Linked DNA regions of Homo sapiens: regions 1 and 3 are each linked to region 2. The links are contacts of gene promoters, found by promoter capture Hi-C in blood cells and fetal thymus (Javierre and others, 2016). All regions are on one chromosome and are shown on one strand. The core of a region is centred on a gene start or on the middle of the fragment in contact, and the rest is flanking DNA. Distances in the headings are between cores, read along the strand shown.

Region 1 (3,102 bases), core at 367-2,866, 320 kb before region 2:
TTTCTGATAGTCTATATTTTAGAGGACAAAGTTTCTCAGTGAGTGAGAAAACAGTAGTCACTCAAAGAAGACAGTTACGACATTTTACAGCTGCACTGTGTCCTTGAGGAAAATAATGTTTTCTGTGAACTTTGCAGCTCACTTTATCCATGTCATTATTCCGGCACGATAGTCGGCCGGCAGATTCTTTCTTTCTTATGTTCAAAAAGAGCATCTGCTTGGCCCAGCCTATCTTTGCAGGCTGCTTCCCAGCTCAGGCACAGGGTGTCCTCGGGTTCCGCTTTCCCCCAGCCCAGGTCTCATCAGTGATACTAGGAAGAAGGCTGTCCTTCAGGCCACTCTCCTGAAGGGGCTGCGGACATAGCCGGTGTCCTGCTGAATGAATTCCACATGAAAATGGGAGCTCCAGCTCCAGAGCTGGGTAAAGTCCCTCATTCAGTCTACTTGGTCAGGATGGAAGCATCCTGCAATGCCCACCCACCACTCCTTGCTCCACTCTGCCTTTCCACGTGGAAGCACGTGTCCTCCGGCAAAGGATAAACTGCTTAAACAAGAAAGAAGTTTCTCTCCAGGTGACAGTCCGGAGGTAGGCAAGTGGTCCAGGGCTGGTGTGTGGCTCTGCCATCCTCAGGCATGGCTTCCGTTTGCAGCTGCAAATGGCTAGTACAGTCCTTGCCAATGCCTAGCCAGCAGGCCAGGAAAGACATGGGAACACACACTCAGTCCTCTTAAGTGCAAGAATATAACATTCTGGGAACTAAGGTGTATGATTTCAGCTCATTTGTCATTCGCAGGACTTGCTCAGGTAAGGGAGGCTGGGAAAGAGACTTGACTTGGTGGCCACGTGCAGGAGCTGTCAACCCTCTCCTAACCCACCACTTAGAGACAGTGCCCTTCTTGTTGGCTAGCCTCTTCCATCCACAGGCAAATGCGTCCTTTCCTCTTTTGTCCTGTCCTAGTCTCTAAAAGAACCAGAGATGTTAACATCTGAGCCTCCCCTGAGTGCAGACCAATGGGGACAGGGCTGCAGATCCTGGGCAGGGATCTCCGTGCTGATGGTGAGGAGACATTGTCAGTGGCCCTTGCTCCACCAGAGTCCTCCCTGCAGCGCCCTTCACCGCCCAGCCCCCTTGCCCACCCCTGTCATTTGGTGCTCAATTTCAGATGCCTGCCCATCCCCTGCCTTGCTCCAAAGAACTTTGGTAGGTAGAGGAGGCACTGCTCCAGGGCCCCAGGAGCATGGGAGTATCCTGAGGCCAGTCGGTGCCTCCAGGGCTCTTCCCGGCCTCCTCCAAACAGCATGTTCTCTTCTCCCTTCCTTGGGGCTAAAAGGAGTCGGACCATGTGAGAGTGGAGGGTACTGAGGTTGTGCTGGCCTTTGTGCTCAGCACCCTCCATCCACTGCCACCCACCTATGCCACTCTCTTGGCTTGTTGACTGGCCAGGCTGGGGACGCAGTTTTCTTACATGTCCAGAGCAAAGCAGTAGAAGACAGGCCAGCACTGCAAGCTTGAGCCTACGTGCTCCAGCATCTCCGAGCTCCCAGGCATCCACCCACCCCACACCTCAGCCACTGGCTCCTGGGCCCTGGCAAGTGCCACATTCCTGATGTGGTGGACGCTGTCCCAACTCATGTCAGGCCAGGCCCAGAGGCAATGGGAACTGATGGACAAGATGGATCACCACCTCCCCACCTACACAATTATTGTAGACATCCCACCCGAAAGCTTGTTCTATAGTTGCCATGGAGGAATGCCCCAGAGGAATGAATTGGTACCAAGGTCATAGTGACTTCATGCACCAAACGCAGGGAGGTATAGCAGTGAAGTGCATAGACTTGAAGTCAGGTTAGCTGCGTTTAAATCTGAGGTCTACCACTTCCCAGCAACTGGGATCTTGAGCAATTATTTAACTCCTCTAAACCTCAGTTTCTTCATTTCTAAAATGAGACTAATAATGGTAGCACACTTCATAATCATCAAGGAAGACTAAAACAATTGTTACACCAAAAGTGCTTAAAACAGGGCCTAGAACAAAATGAGCATTTCATAAATGTTGGCTATTGTTACTTTTCTAGAGGTCTTTGGATTCAATGAATCAATATGACAATACATGACCTTGTGGAAAGACACTAATGGTGGTCTCCCACACATCAAGTCACAGAAGTGGGGGACATAGTTTTAGGGCATTGGGAAAGCTGGTGTTGCTCACAGGGAACTGTCTGATGTAGAAAAGGGCTTCCCGGGAACTGTGAAGTCAGAAAAATTGGTCAAAATCATACTGATTGCTGTTAACATGTCGGAGGCAGGCAGGCTGCAGAGACAAAGCCTCTGGGGTCTCCTGATCACCACTGCGTAAAACCCAGGTTATTCTCCAGCACCCCTAGGACAATCTCACCCCACAAGCAAAAAGGATGGTTGTGTGAACCCTGCTGTTGTAAACCTGGGGCTGGGAAAAGTGAGACCAATTTGTTGGATAAAGATGTGAGGACATTTAAGCCCTTGCCATGCATGAAGTTAGGAAGATGGCAATCATTTTTGCTTATAGCAATGCCTTAAAACTTATCCTATATCAGCAGCTGTGACTGGGAAGAGCCCTGTGCTGGGAGTGCAAACGAGACCATGAGCTTCTTGAGGTAGGTGTGGATCTAATCAATTGCCTGGCACACAGATGATGCTCAGTAAATATTGGCTGGATGAAGTCAGGAAACCTGTGTTCCAGTCTCTGCTCTGTAGGGAGCCAACAGTGTCACCCCGGTCAATATGCCTCTCCTCCAGGGTTGCTGTTCCCCATCTGCCTCTAGACTTGATATCTGAGATTCCATTGAGCAGTAAGATTCTGTCCGTTCCCAGCCTAGGAGCTTGCTGCCCACCTAAGGAGACCTGTCTTGCTGTAAGACCCTCAGGCCTTGCCCTCCTCAACCTCAGCAGGGAGACTGCCTGCCTGAGTTGGAGGTGGTGTGTGTGGTGGAAAGGCAAGGCTCCATGTTTTTTTCCTTTTGACTGCTCGATAGTGGAGCCTCAGACCCCTTGCAGGAGGAATGAGTCGGTGTGGGGAGGGTAATTGAGCCGAAACTGGCAGGAGGAGGAGAATAGGTGCAAA
Region 2 (3,157 bases), core at 40-2,539:
GAAAAAATATGGCTATATATTAACAATATTTTGGAAGATTTAAATCTTCCTATAAGCAGCCCGTCAATTCACAAAAACAAATTAAAGTCTTGATTTGGAACAATATTCCCAGCTTACTTTAGCAGGTATCTTAAACTACAACTATTTAGCTAAGACAAAGAAGTAGATTATTTGATTGCTACAGACTTCGCGGTAAATGATTCAGCAACAGTGTATAGATAACACCACTGTGCTATTCTAGAAAATTTCATCAATCATTTAAAAATAGGACACACTCAAACAATGGGGGTCACTTTGTGGGAAAAGTTTAAACAACTTATTTACACAGTAAGCAAGGATCTATCACTTTATCTAAAACACTGCAGAAGAATCACTAGCTTTAGGGTAAACGTTTGTAAAGTGCCTACTATGTACCAGGCAAGTAGTAGTTGCTTCACAGAATATACACGCTCCACACGCACGTTCAAATATCTGACATTTGTAGAATACTGTCACTCATCTGATTTGACCCTGAGAATACCCATAGGCATGAACTTGCCAGTTTCACAGTTACGGAAAGAGAGGCCCAGGAAGTTAATTTGGCCGAGGTATCACATCTGGTTCCGCGGGTTCTGGCCCTAGACTTGAGCCTTTTGACTCATAATCTAATCATCAGCTGCTATACAGCTCTAGTTACTCAAAAGCTCTTAGGTGTTCCACTGTCAGACTTTTAAATTAAAATTCTACTTGACAACTTTCGGTATTGTGCGTATTAGATGCTGTTAAGAATCAAAACACCAAAAAAAGCAAAATATTGTTTGGAAGTGCATCGTCCCAGCATGTCGAAGTTCAAGCTCACTGGCTAATTTTGGAGAAAGCCCGCGTTTCCCCAGGCTGCCGGGCGCTCCCTCCCTCTTCCCCAGCAGAGAGCGGCGCCCAGCCTAGGGGTCCCCAAGCCCCTGAGGTAGCGAGGAGGTCTTCAGCCAGGCTCCGCCACAACCCGTGCGGCCACGAGAGGACGTCCCAAAGCTGGGCCCAACAACCGGTTGCTCCTCCGGACGGAGGAGGTGCCGAGACAGCGGGGCGCGGAGACACCACCTCCGCCAGCTCGGCTCGCACCGTCCGAGGACTACGCCGCGGCGCCACAGCCCCGCACCCGACGCCCAGAAGGGTGATGCCGACAGCCCCGAGAGTCCGAAGCCCCTGCGGCTTAAAACCCCGCGCCGAATCACCCCGACTCTTACCTGTCTGTACCTCAACGTTGTCTCCTGTGGCCAAGCTAGTCTCCCGGGTATCACTCGGGTCCGCTCCGTCCCGCCCCCGCAGGCCCTGCCGAAGGCCCCGTCCCGGCTGCAGCCCCACCCCCTAGCCCCGCCCTCCCTGGCAAGGCTCAGTTCTTATTGGCTCCTATTCCCACCCCTCACGCTATGCCCGCCTCCGACACCGCCCCGGCCGGCGGTGAGGGGAACCACCACGCCTCAAGTCCGCTGTATGGCCAGAACCTTGCCAGGACCTCGGTCACTGCAGTTCCAGCAGGCGGGCGACCAGTGTCACCGTCGTCCGGCCAAGCCCTCGAGCCAGAGCTCCATCGCCTTCGCCTGCCGTCGCATCGGCCCCACGGAGACGGCCCTATGCTTCATGTGAAGGTTTACTCTTCACAACTACTCAACAAGATAAAGCCTGGCTTAATCAGGGAATCCAAGCACTGTTTCCTAGGCTGACCTCAGTGAGCAAACAATTGCACTACGGTGCCAACTTGAAACGTCAAGAGAAGCAAATAACTCTCGCGGCACCTCAGGCTTGGAATCTCAGAACGGGGGTGCCTTGATACTCCCAGTGCGTGAGGTCAGCCCCCACGCCCTGTTGAGACACACATGCCTAAGCGCTCCGCCTGCAACACGCTCTTGCTTAGGTATGTGCGTGGTGTTGTGCCTACTGCAAGCTGTAACCCAGTTTCACCGAGGCTGCGGGACAAGGATCAGTTGAGCCTGTTTCCCAGGCACTCGCTAACCACCCCACCCCGCCTCGCCCCGCCCCACCCCACCCCACCCCACCCAGCCAGAGCCTCTTGGGTCTGGTGACCAAACTCTTCCTACATTTGTTCACACAGAGGTACCAAAATAGAAGACTACCAGAAAGAGAGGTGTTTAGTTACGTATCACGGATGACTGTCACAAGCAAACTTAACCCAAACAATAAAGGTAGCATATCCCAAACCGTTGTGAAACTATCACCTGTAGACAGTAAAACAGAAATTACATTCTATGATGGGGGAAAAAAAAGTAATGACATACTTAAAAAAAATCATGTCCCAATGAGGAAATAAATGTGGATATTGTTTGTAGTAAATTTTGCACACTGATCATTATGGGCTTCCCCCACCAAAAAAAAAAAAATTCTTATATAATGTGTCTATCTATTTATTTATTGAGACAGGGTCTCTTTGTGTCACTCACACTGGAGTGCGGTGGCCCAATCATAGCTCACTTGAAGTCTCAACTTCCTAGGCTCAAAGAATCGTCCCACCTCGGCCTCCCAAGCAGCTAGTATTATAAGCATGCACCACCACCCCCGGCTAATATTTTTATTTTTATTTTTTTGTAGAGACAGGGTCTCGCTATGTTGCCCAGGCTGGTCTCCAACTCCCGAGCTCAAGCAGTCCTCCTGCCTCAGCCTCCCAAAGTGCTGGGATTACAGACATGAGCCACTGCACCCAGCCCAGAAATGTATTTTTTGACCCCTGCATTCAGGAAGATTATTTGGCAAAATAAGGCAGGTTGAATTCCAAGTATCACGTATGAAACCAAATTTATAGATTAATAAATGAATTCACATGTATGTATTCTACTGCCCTCTCATGGGTAAGATGGAGATATACATAATGGTAGTTAATGCCCTTTGAAGTCTGAGAATACAGTGTTTAATGTAGCAATTTGTACTATTTTGATGATGAGGAGGCCAAGGTAAAATAAAATCTGGTTCTTTAAAGGGTTCACAAATACTCAACAAACAAAACTTCAACTTCAGAAATCAGGAAGAGATTCTTACACCAGAGCTAGTACAAACATGCCATCAGGGTTACACCTATGCTTATGGCTGCATGTGTAGAATATAGAAACGTGCAGAAATTTGCTTTCAATTTTTTTTCCATTTGAAAGTTCAGGCTGGGCACAGTGGC
Region 3 (2,922 bases), core at 257-2,756, 260 kb before region 2:
TTATAGCAAGAAAAAAGCTGGGTTTACCCCAAGAATACTGACTTACTTTCACCAAAAAGAAATTGGGGGACAAGAGAGGAAGGAGAAGACTGAAAAAAACAAGTATGACTCTACTATTTTATGGTCTCTGAAATCAAGAGACAAGAGGTTGCATGAACATAAAATAATAAATGGAAGGGAAGAACTACAGCTCTGCTAAACCAAAACCTACCACTTGTAGATGCAAAAACTGATCCCTGATAATTAGTGAATTGCTCAAGCTTACTACAGAATTAGAACCAGACTGCAGGTTTTGTAACCTTAGCCCCCTATTAATTTAGAGTTTTATCTATTTTCCTTATACTGAATATAAACTAAAGGCCAGGAGATGAAATCTACTCTTTAACATTAATGTACTACTTAGATCTTAGATATTTTATTGTTAGTTTCTCTGGAAGCTAATACCAAAAGAATAACAGGCTCCCTGTTTTATAGAAATACTATGCACTGGTTAGAAGGCCATCTGCCCTGAACATTCTTCTGTTATTTATTTTTAGCTTATGAAAATCAACACCAAAAATCAATTATTTCACTGGTACCTTGGAAAGCTAAGTAGTGTTGGAACATGACAAGTTAGATGAAAGACCTTTGGACATTTTTCGCAGCACAAGAGATCTCCTCCGTTTTGGCAGACAGCACACCAGTCTTCATTTGGGTCATCATCTTTATTGTTGCCATCTCCTCCAATCCTTGCCGACCTGTGCATGAGGCTTCGAATTGGGGACTTTCCATTAACAAGGCTGCTGAGCCCTGACTGTTTGCAGCTTTCATTCATATCTGCAGGTTCAATTTTCACATGGTTTTCCAGGCTTGCCAATGCATCCAATTCACTTTCTAGATGCAGGTTGGTTGAGAGAGGTGGTGTCAAGCTACTCTCAGGACTGCTCAACTAAAACAAAACGATGACAAATTCTTGAAGAATCATTTAATCTTTATTGTATGCCATATGTGTATTTAACAGTTATGTGAATATGCATATAGATATACTGACGTAACAAATTTATTTTATAGATCACAATAGTGCCATAAAGAAATGACAATAACCCCAAAATTATTCAGGCACGCTAACATATGATTTTAAGGGGTCTGCTCCTCTGATAATGTCTCACTCAAATAATAAGTAAATTAATTAAACTGTTAAGCTATTGATTGGGAAGTGAGCATAGGGTTATACTTTTCCTTGAGAGAGCTAATTATGGCACACCCCTTTTCACACCCAGAATCTTTTGCATAGCATTTTAGAAGCATTCTATAATATTCTTCTGCTCACCTATCATTCTACTATATTGTAGGAAGGCTGCAACAACATAAAAGAAATTGTTCACCAACCTTGGCACCCATTTTTTTTATGGGGGTACTTTCTAAACCAAGTTCTGGATGAAGACGTAACAATACTCCAAAACCAAGGCTGAATCTCTTGCTCTCTGAATCTATATATACTGTGTTAAATATACCAATACCTTGAGATGAATTCCCATGTGCCAACCATATAAAAAAGGAAAAAGAAGCCCGGTCAGAAAGAGAAAACAAAAATCAAAATATTTAAACCAAGAGGGGCTTGGCCTTCCTTCATTCTGTATTAGAAATTTTATAAATGTTCCACTCAAGGAACTCCAGAATGATTAGTAATACGTAAGCCAAAAGACAAACTTCCTATCACAAAACTCTGATCAATAAATTTCTTTCATGTCAGCAATCTTAATGCTGAGCTCACAGGTCCAGGAGAATCCCAAAGATCTTTTGTGGCCTGAGATTCAATGTGACTACTGAAATAATAATTTCAGGACAAGATACAATCTGATTTAGCATCATGGGAAGAATATTGACTAAATACAAATTCAAAGATAATTTCAAATGAGTACTTAATACAATTAAGTCTTTTCTGATTAATTACAGCTGACTCTTAGACAAAAAAGTTGAGTTAGAAAAAGAGATATCTGGCTTGTGCCAGGCATGAAATTTCAAAAATAAATGTTTCTAGACCCACTACTTAGTCTTAATATACTCAGAGCTGAAAGAATCAATGAAGTGATGTCCTTAAGTCCCTGTCAGACTCCAGTGGGAGCTTACCATGCAAGCACTCCTCCTGCCATCCTCTGTTTTTTCTTGTTTTACACCTCCTGAAAAGCTACATATTTCATCTTCAGTCCCAGGTTCTTGCTTGACCTTCACCTGATCAGATTTGAAACTAAGACTTGTCTTCTCAGCAGTTCTTCCTGATGACCCACAGCTAATAAGAAACAACAAATAAAGATCACATACGTTTGACTATATGGTATAAATAAAAACAATTATATGAAAAGTAATGTTCACTAAAGTGAAGACAATAGACAATTAACTTTACAGAAGATAAGGATACCTCATAATGTAGTTAAGGGGAATGTGGTATAAAGCCTAGCTTAAAACTCTTTAAAATTATGCAGCAACTTTCAGAAGACCCTAAAAACACATTTTATGGTTTGAAGCACTTTCTTCACACACACACACGCACACACACACACTCCTATTTCTTAGCTCTGTCCACTGAAAAGGCCTAAGAAACAATGAACAATTCAGTAGCAATGAGTGCTATTAGTACTAGAATATTATCCTCAAACACTATTTTCCTGCTTTCCTGCTAACACTACCAGAACTTCCTGGGAAAGTGGCTGATTCCAGGTCTGAAGCATGAAATGTACAAAATGAACCCGAAATGCTGTTTCACAGGAAACATGGAAGCTTAAAAAAGACTGCTGTGATTATAGCAAAAGGACTAAGGAGCAAGCCTGAGAAAGCTTTGACAGGACAAAGATGGAATAATGTTCAGTGTTCAATATACATACATACAGACGTAACATATATAATGGATTAAAATATATAAAGTATGTTTAAATATCTCAGTCC

The links. Contacts are between HindIII fragments. The CHiCAGO score rates a contact against its expected background, and 5 or more counts as called.
Region 1: a fragment that was not itself captured here is called in contact with the fragment with the promoter of DENND2C in region 2 in 7 of 17 cell types (total B cells, megakaryocytes, naive B cells and 4 more); the score reaches 9.0 in total B cells.
Region 3: a contact is called between a fragment that was not itself captured here and the fragment with the promoter of DENND2C in region 2, in 1 of 17 cell types (naive B cells). The highest score is 5.3, in naive B cells.

Annotation. Positions count from the first base shown.
Region 1 is chr1:114,349,775-114,352,876 of GRCh38, forward strand. No RefSeq gene overlaps it. Among named protein-coding and RNA genes, the nearest start is that of TRIM33, 160 kb to the right of the region's middle. RefSeq lists an enhancer at 2,726-3,102 and a silencer at 3,093-3,102. The HindIII fragment of the contact is 218 bases long and covers 1,508-1,725 here.
Region 2 is chr1:114,668,760-114,671,916 of GRCh38, forward strand. It overlaps DENND2C (DENN domain containing 2C), which reads right to left and starts at 1,290. Exons shown (of 21, transcript NM_001256404.2): 1 at 1,224-1,290. LOC124904354 (a long non-coding RNA gene) reads left to right here and starts at 1,652. Exons shown (of 2, transcript XR_007066465.1): 1 at 1,652-1,891; 2 at 2,090-2,195. RefSeq lists a silencer at 1,294-1,383 and an enhancer at 1,504-1,663. The HindIII fragment of the contact is 6,814 bases long and covers 1-3,157 here.
Region 3 is chr1:114,404,832-114,407,753 of GRCh38, forward strand. It overlaps TRIM33 (tripartite motif containing 33), which reads right to left. Exons shown (of 20, transcript NM_015906.4): 14 at 2,110-2,269; 15 at 579-928. Among named protein-coding and RNA genes, the nearest start is that of TRIM33, 100 kb to the right of the region's middle. The HindIII fragment of the contact is 2,497 bases long and covers 259-2,755 here.